2 separate regions of the Homo sapiens genome follow, and region 2 is linked to region 1. Evidence: promoter capture Hi-C in 16 types of primary human blood cells and fetal thymus (Javierre and others, 2016). All regions are on one chromosome and are shown on one strand. The core of a region is centred on a gene start or on the middle of the fragment in contact, and the rest is flanking DNA. Distances in the headings are between cores, read along the strand shown. Region 1 holds the start of CRACDL (CRACD like). Region 2 has its middle 44 kb from the start of INPP4A.

Region 1 (3,771 bases), core at 1,175-3,674:
AGCTGAGTCCATTTCAGCTGCTATAACAAAATACCATAAACCGGGCAGCTCATAGACAACAGACATTTATTCCTTGCAGTTCCAGAGGCTGGAAGTCCAAGATCAAGGCACTGGCAGGTTGGGTGTCTGGTGGGGGCCCATTCCTCATAGAAGGCGCCTCCTCACAGTGTCCTCACATGGTGGAAGGGACGAGCGAGCTCCTTGCGCTTCTTTTATAAGGGCACCAAGCCCATTCATGACCTATCACTTCCCAAAGGCCTCATCTCTTAATACCATCACCTTGAGGATTAGGAATCCACATATGAATTTTTGGGGGGACACAAACATTCAAACCATAGCACTATCACTGCTCTCATTTCCCTGAATGGTGCACTGAGATTGGTCAAGATTCATCCTTTTTTTTTTTTTTTTTTTTTGAGACTGAGCCTCACTCTGCTGCCCAGGCTGGAGTGCAGTGGTGCCATCTCAGCTCACTGCAACCTCTACGTCCCTGGTTCAAGCAATTCCCCTGCCTCGGCCTCCCGAGTAGCTGGATTACAGGCGCCACACCTGGCTATTTTTGTTTTGTATTTTTAGTAGAGTCAGGGCTTCACCACGTTGGCCAGACTGGTCACGAACTCCTGACCTCAGGCAATCCACCTGCCTCGGCCTCCCAAAGTGCTGGGATTACAAGTGTGAGCCATCGCGCCCAGCCAAGATTCATCTTAACTAGCCTAAGAGGGCCAAGCAGAGCAGTGATCTCAGCAGGACAGCCACCCGTTAGTGAGCCCCACATGACGCATCCTATGCAGCAGCTGAGCTGCGCAGCATCCATGGATGGTACACTTTATTTTATAAGTGAGGAAACAGATGCTTAGAGAGTAAGAACTTGACTCGTGGAGGAGGTCCAGAATCAGACTCAGGCAAGCCAGGTACTCACTACAGGCACAAAATTTAAGGGGGTACCAAAAATGCAGTCAGATAAATGCCTTATTACAATATTTTAAAACATCAAAACAAATACAAAAATCCCTAATGTACAAAATCTCACATTTTTAAATAAAGACAGGATCAGTGTTCCTGATTTTTCCTGTTGCCTCAGACTCCAAGATGGCACAGCATAGGGGCAGAGCCCAGAAACCAGCCCAGCTCAACCTTCTCCACCAGCTCCACACGACACTGTCTCTAGATATCTTTCTCCTCACAATTTTATAACCTCAATAGGTTCTTAGGATGACCACAGTGCTCCATCATTCCAGGTGTGCGCCCGTGGGACCGAGCTCCAGGGAAAATACCAGGGGTCTACACAGATTCTAGTCTATGGTATATGCAAATGAAGGAAGCCTGCAGGCTCCAATAACCTAGTAGGATACCTTAAGACCAGTTTGGGAAGGTGTGAGCTGGCTCTAAAAGGGTAACACAGCTGCCTGTCTTCCACTTGGATTTCCTGGCTCAAAACTGTCAACAGGACCTGATGCCTGCAGGCGGTTTGCACCTACACGGAGTCAAATTCACACAGCCGCACTGCTTCTGACTTGCATTTCAAAAGCAAGTGACTATTATGCTCTGATCACATGTGAACTTCATACCGAATCTTTGCCTATGATGAAGCTTCTGTTCAACAAATATTTGTTGATTAAAAATGTGAACACTTCTTAGATCAACTCCAGAATCCCTCCCGGGTGGCGTGTAATCAAAGCCTAAAACCTGTTAAATAAACCATCACCTAAAGCATAAGGCAGTTCGTGAATGTGTCCACTCCTTTCCCCTGCAACTGCGTGTGGAGACAGTGGGCATAAAGACCTCGTATGCTAGCAATTTCAACCGAGCAGGACCTTCTCTCCCTCCTCTTTCATTTTCCTGGCGCGTAAACTGCTGGATTTGCCTCACAGTGGAAAGTTGGGTCCAGCAAAGTGAGCAAAGGGAAACTTTGGGCACTTGCACGAGCGCGTCCGGCTCCCCCTCGGCCGCAGGAGCTGCCCAGGGCTTCGGCGGCGGGGGTGGCGCCTCTCCGGGTCCGAGGGGCCCCTGGCTTCACGGCCTCTGCCCTCGACCCCCTAGCCCCGGCCCGCCCCACCTCCGCCCGGTGCCCCCGCGCCCACCCCGCCTTCGACCCACGCCTGCCTTGGGACACGCGATTTCAAACCCCTCGAGGTACCTGGGACAGGAGCGTGGCCCGGGCTCGGCGAGACGCGCAGAGAAGGGCACCTTCCGCGGGGTGCGGCGAGCCGGGGCTGCTCCCGCCGCGGTGCGCGTCTAGCCCCAGCCCAAAGCCGGGGCGACGCAGCAGGTGGCCGCGCGGCCTCCAGACAGCCCGGGTCTGCGGCCGAAGAGCTGGACGCGGGCGCTGACACTACCCTCCCGCGGCCGGCCCGGCCCTGCGCCCGGCGCGCTCCCAGCTCCCAGCTCCCAGCTGCAGGCGCGCCGGCTTCGCTCGGCTCCGCTCGGCTCGGCGGGGGCGGACGCCGCTCAGCTCCCCTCGCCGGCCGCCGCGCGCACCTCCCCCGCGGCGCACAGCTCCCAACGCCGCCTCCGCAGCTGGCCCGGCGGAGTGGGGCCGAGACCTCGGGGCGGGGGGCGCAGGCGCCGGCCTGGGCCTTGGACGCCCCGCGGGAGGCGGGAGGGCGATCGGGGTGCGGGGAGGGCAATCGGGGTGCGGGCCCGGCTGCCCAGCGCTCCCTCCCAAGCCCGCGCCGCTCCCGACCCGCCTCGGCCTGTCCGCGCAGCGGCGCTGTCGGGGCTCCGGGAGGGCCGGGGGGCACCGGAGACCCGGAGGTGGTGGCAAGTCAGTCCGGGACTGGCCCAGGGCACCCGCGCGCGTCGGTGAGAGGGACCCGGGACTCCAGGTGACCTCCGGATCCGCCCTCTAAGTCAGTGGCCTGCGGCGGGCGTGGGCGCCGAGGGAAGGAAGTGTGCATTTGAATAAAAGTAAAAGTTTGTTATTGTTGTTGTTTTATAACCCTGTGGGTCCTGAGCGTCTCCAGGCTAATTAGGGAAGCTGCCGCCCCGTCTGGAGGTGATTCATGGGTGTGACACCGGCGAGTGTGGGAAGAAAGGCAGCTGATGCCGTCTCAGCTGCGCTCGCCTTTCTTTATTTTCTTTCTTTCTTCTTTTTTTAAAATCCTTTTTCTTGTAAAGACAGGGCTGGTCCATTTAGGGAGACCGCGCACGGAGGGAGCTGCCTTGGGTGGTCGCCCAGCGAATCTCCTCCGGAGCCCGAGCCGCGGCTTTGGTCTGCGGATGGCACAGCCCGGCGACCCCGTCCCGGCCTCTTCCCCGGCGGTGCACGCCCAGGGCCAGGCAGGCGAGAGGCGCGGGAGTCGCGTCCCAGCAGGGAGCCCAGGCTGCGACGAGTCCTCAGGGGACGCCTTCAACCCAGGCTGGAAGAGATGATACTAACGTCAGACGGGGAGTCTCGGGTGTCACCGGACGCCAGAATGAGCGGCGAGGTCCGCATTGTTTGGAGGGGATCACGCGGAATCCGCGCTACTCCGCGGGACGCTGGGTCCGACGGCTAGCGCCGCGCACACTGGAGGCCTGGAAAAGCCGAGCTGCTCGGCTGTCGGAGGCCGAGAGGGCCTGGACCCCGGAAGGAGCTCTCTCCACCTGTGGCTTTCAAGGGGCTCAAAATCCCAGATAGAAGAATCGAGCGAAACGAGGCCCAAGACAGTTTCCCATTTACTTGGGCATATCAAACGAAGTTTCCTTTTTGAATTTTTAATGTTATCCCTTGGCCACAAGCTATTCACGTAAAAGCCTCTTTTGATGGTTAAGTGCTTTAAGTTCCCTGTA
Region 2 (3,996 bases), core at 819-3,318, 540 kb before region 1:
AAGAAATAAAGAAAAAAGTAAAACAGTGGTATATTTATACAATCACCTATAATCAAATACTACTCAGGAATGAAAATGAATGAGCAATTGATCAAGGGAAAAAGATTCCATTTGTATGACATTCTGGAAAAGGCAAACAATAATGGTGGAAAACAGCTCAGCGGTTGCCAGGGGTTGTCAGGAGGTGTAGAGGCTGATTGCAAAGGAGATCACGGGGGAATTTTTAGTGTGATGGAACTGTTTTGCATGGTGTTGGGGTGGTGGGTATATGACTGTGCATTGTTCACTCTCACAGAACTGTATACCACAAAGAATAAACTGTAATGTATGAAATTTTAAAATATCAACCCGAATGTGGGCAATATAAGGATGGAAAGCAGATTGTGACAAATGAATCTAGCTATATTAGAAATATATGACATAACTTTACTGAAGGACATAGGGTAAAACAATGACCTAAGTAATGTTAAAAATGGTGCTTTGAGTAGAAACTAAGGCTAAAGATGAAAAGATGTGACATGAATACTGTACTCTAGTTGTAAATTTGTTTCACACGGGGATATGCGTTACTAATTCAGAATTACATTATACTATGGATGAATGCATGAATGAGGGAATAAATAAATAAATGTTTTAAAAAATGGAAGCCAGATTTATCATAGTCAGAAAAAGAAGTTACAAATAAGACCACACAAGATCAGAATGAACCCTGTGGTACTGGATTGAAATCAGACATTAGAATGAACTCACGTTTATTTATATATCCAGGTAGACAGATGCAGAAATGATTGTAGGTGTGTGTGTGTGTGTGTGTGTGTGTGTGTATGTATATATATGTTGGTATACATAGATATATTTCTAACTCTGTGTACCAAGAAGGCTTGGCAGTGATACCTATTACAAAGAGCACACCAAGCACCCAGATCTTGGTTTCCAAATATCTTTCTCCAATAAAAGGAACCAGGGCTGATTCTAGGGCTGAGACGGGGAAAATATACCATGAGCATGGAGTGTCTTGTAGTGCCGGAAAGTACTCAAAAAGCACAATGTTGGGGGGCAAGTGGCGATAGGGCTTTCTACATACACACACACACACACACACACACACACACACACACACACACAATGATGGAAGTAAATTAGAGGGACATAGCAACCAACCTGAAAGAGCTCCCAATGGCCAAAACTGAAGCCATTTGAAAAACAAAATTTTTAAATTTAGTATTAGACTATATCCCAAAGTATAAAAGTCCATGAGTCTATGCCATAAATGAATGATTGAATAAATAAATTAATGAGGGAGAAAGGACACATATTTTTTACAGAAGGATTCCAGATCATATATGTAGATTATTTGATACTTTCCACCCCAGGATGTAAAGCCTTATTGATGGATCTTGCACTCAGAACTGGAGCCAAGGATCCAGCAGCCTCTACACTGCCATGGGGGAACATAATGTCAATATCAACTGGTCATGTGAATGGGATTACAGTAAGGAGGTTGAGGTGGGAAAGTTATCCTGGATTTTCCAAGGGGACCTGATATAATCACAAGGATTCTGATAAGTGGGAGGCAGGAAGATCAGAGAGAGGAAGGCAATGTAACAATTAAAGAATATGTATTATTATTATGGTAGAAACTTCATTAAGATTTTTGAGATTCTGGAAAAATGGTGGTGGTGGCAGTGTAGTTTGTTGGGCTCTCTAAGTCCTCACATAAAACACAGCAAATAAGATAACAAATCTAAAGATCCACAGACAACATCTGACATCCCTGAGGATATGAAAACACCCAAATCACCAACAGGTGCTCACTAAAAAGCATGGAGAGCCTGTCTGAGAACAGCTGGAATTAAGGGAGATTCTGCAGGGATCAATTTGTGGGTGACAGCAAATTGACAATGATGCTGCAAGATTGATGTGCAGGGACACTCTCGGTGCTGCACACTCTGGATGTTCACAGAATAAAGCTTCTTTCTTTATTTGAGAAACATCTATTCAGATCCTTTGCCCATTTTTACATTGGGTTATTTGTTTGCTTGCTATTGAGTTGTTTGAGTTCCTTATATATTTTAGATATTAACCCTCATCAATGTATGGTTTGCAAATATTTTCTCTCATTCTGTAGGTTGTCTCTTCACTCTTGTTTGTTTCCTTGGCTGTGCAGAAGCTTTTTAGTTTAATGTAATCCTATTTGTCTATTTTTGCTTTTGTGGTCTGTGTTTTTGGGTTCACATCTTTAAAAATAATTTCCCAGATCAATGTCATGGAGGATTTACCCTATGTTTTCTTCTAGTATGAAAGAAGCTTCCTTCTAAGACAAAACCCCTCACTGAGAGACAATTTGGAGTAAAATCCAAATTGATCACAGGACAGAAACAGTAGTGACAAAGGAAAGAAAAAGTTTAGATAAAAGAGGGTAGAGAAGCAGAGGAGGTAGCACTACTTCATATATATTTTTATCACTTTGAGAAAACAGCCGAAGAGAGAATTAGAGAACTATGAAGTTAGAAAAAAGTAAATCATGCTCCATCTCTTCTCTCTAAAGTATAAGCACATTCAACTCACTTAGAAGACGAACAACAGAAAAGATGCACCCTCAAATTTCATGCAAAGTCTTTATTAAAAAGACAGCGAGGAAGAATCAGATGGAGTATAACATCTCTGCAGATAATGAAACCCACCAGAAAGACATGCCCACAGAACGGATGTAAACTGACTCATCATTTCAAAACCAGCCAAGAGAAATTAAGAGAATGATAGATGCTATTAAAAAAAAAACAGCATAAACCAGAATCAAGGATGAGGTGATTGAGGAAAAGGAAGATTTGACAAGAGCTGTAACAGAACTCAGAAAAGTACTAGAAATAAAAGAACAAAAAAAATTTTAAAAACTGAATTAAAAGGAACACAAGAGCAAATAAACATAGTAAGCAATGTTTTAAGAGAAATCAAAGATGGAAAGGAAAAATGTCTTAAAAATCAAAAAAGATATTCCGAATATGACATTTGGGAAAGGACAAAATTGTGGCAAAAGTAAAAAAAAAAAATTAGTGTTTGCCAGGGGTTGGGGGAGTAGAAGCATAAACAGGTGGAGTGCAGAGAGTTTCAGGGCACTGAAAATACTCTGTATGATACTGTAGTGGTAAATACATGTTGTTATACCTTTGTGAAAACCCACAGAATGTTCAACACCAAGAGTGGACACCAATGTAAACTATGGACTTCAAGAGAAAAATTGTCAGTGTAGGTTCATCTGTCACAGCAAATGCACCTTTGATACCACTTTCAAAAATATGAAGTATGTTGCAGGTATATGGGAATTTTGCTGTGAACCTAAAACTGCTCCCAAAATGCTTTTTTTTAATCAAAAAGAAATGAAAAAGATAAAAAGAATTTGTGAGAAAAGTGATGGAGAATAAACAACAAAGATCTAGCATGTTAATAAGAATCCCAAACAAGTACCAAAGCACAGGAATAGAGCACAACACTAAAACTTATCATTTAAGAAAAGTTCCTGAAATAAAAATTAGCTTGAACTAGATATTGAAGACACATTCTGCATTCTGGGAAAATTGAGCCAGAAAACTGGCACTGAGACATATAACAGTAAAACTTATAGACTGCAAAAGAAAAGAAAAAACGTTTTTGACATTCAAGCAAAAAGACAAAGTCACTTACAAGGGGGTAATATCAGATTGCCTTCAGACTTTTATAAAATAGCACTTCATGCTAGAAGACAATGAAATAACACATGCATGATATTCAAAGACAAAAAATATGAGCCACAGATTTTATGTCCAACCAAACTGGCCTTGAGGTAGAAAGGCTGCAGATAAACAGTTATAAACATGCAAAAACTCAGGAGTATTGTTTTCATGAGCCCTTCCTGAGCAATCTACAAGAGGAGAACCTCAGAAGACCAGAAAGACCGGGAAAATATTGACATAAGGCCAAGTACTCTGCTCACTGAAAAAGCTCAGAACAATAACTCAG

What was found. Contacts are between HindIII fragments. The CHiCAGO score rates a contact against its expected background, and 5 or more counts as called.
Region 2: a fragment that was not itself captured here is called in contact with the fragment with the promoter of CRACDL in region 1 in 1 of 17 cell types (total CD8 T cells); the score reaches 5.1 in total CD8 T cells.

The regions. Positions count from the first base shown.
Region 1 is chr2:98,933,801-98,937,571 of GRCh38, forward strand. CRACDL (CRACD like) reads right to left here and starts at 2,425. Exons shown (of 10, transcript NM_207362.3): 1 at 2,138-2,425. RefSeq lists a silencer at 1,592-1,792. The HindIII fragment of the contact is 4,194 bases long and covers 1,589-3,771 here.
Region 2 is chr2:98,399,157-98,403,152 of GRCh38, forward strand. No RefSeq gene overlaps it. Among named protein-coding and RNA genes, the nearest start is that of INPP4A, 44 kb to the right of the region's middle. The HindIII fragment of the contact is 200 bases long and covers 1,969-2,168 here.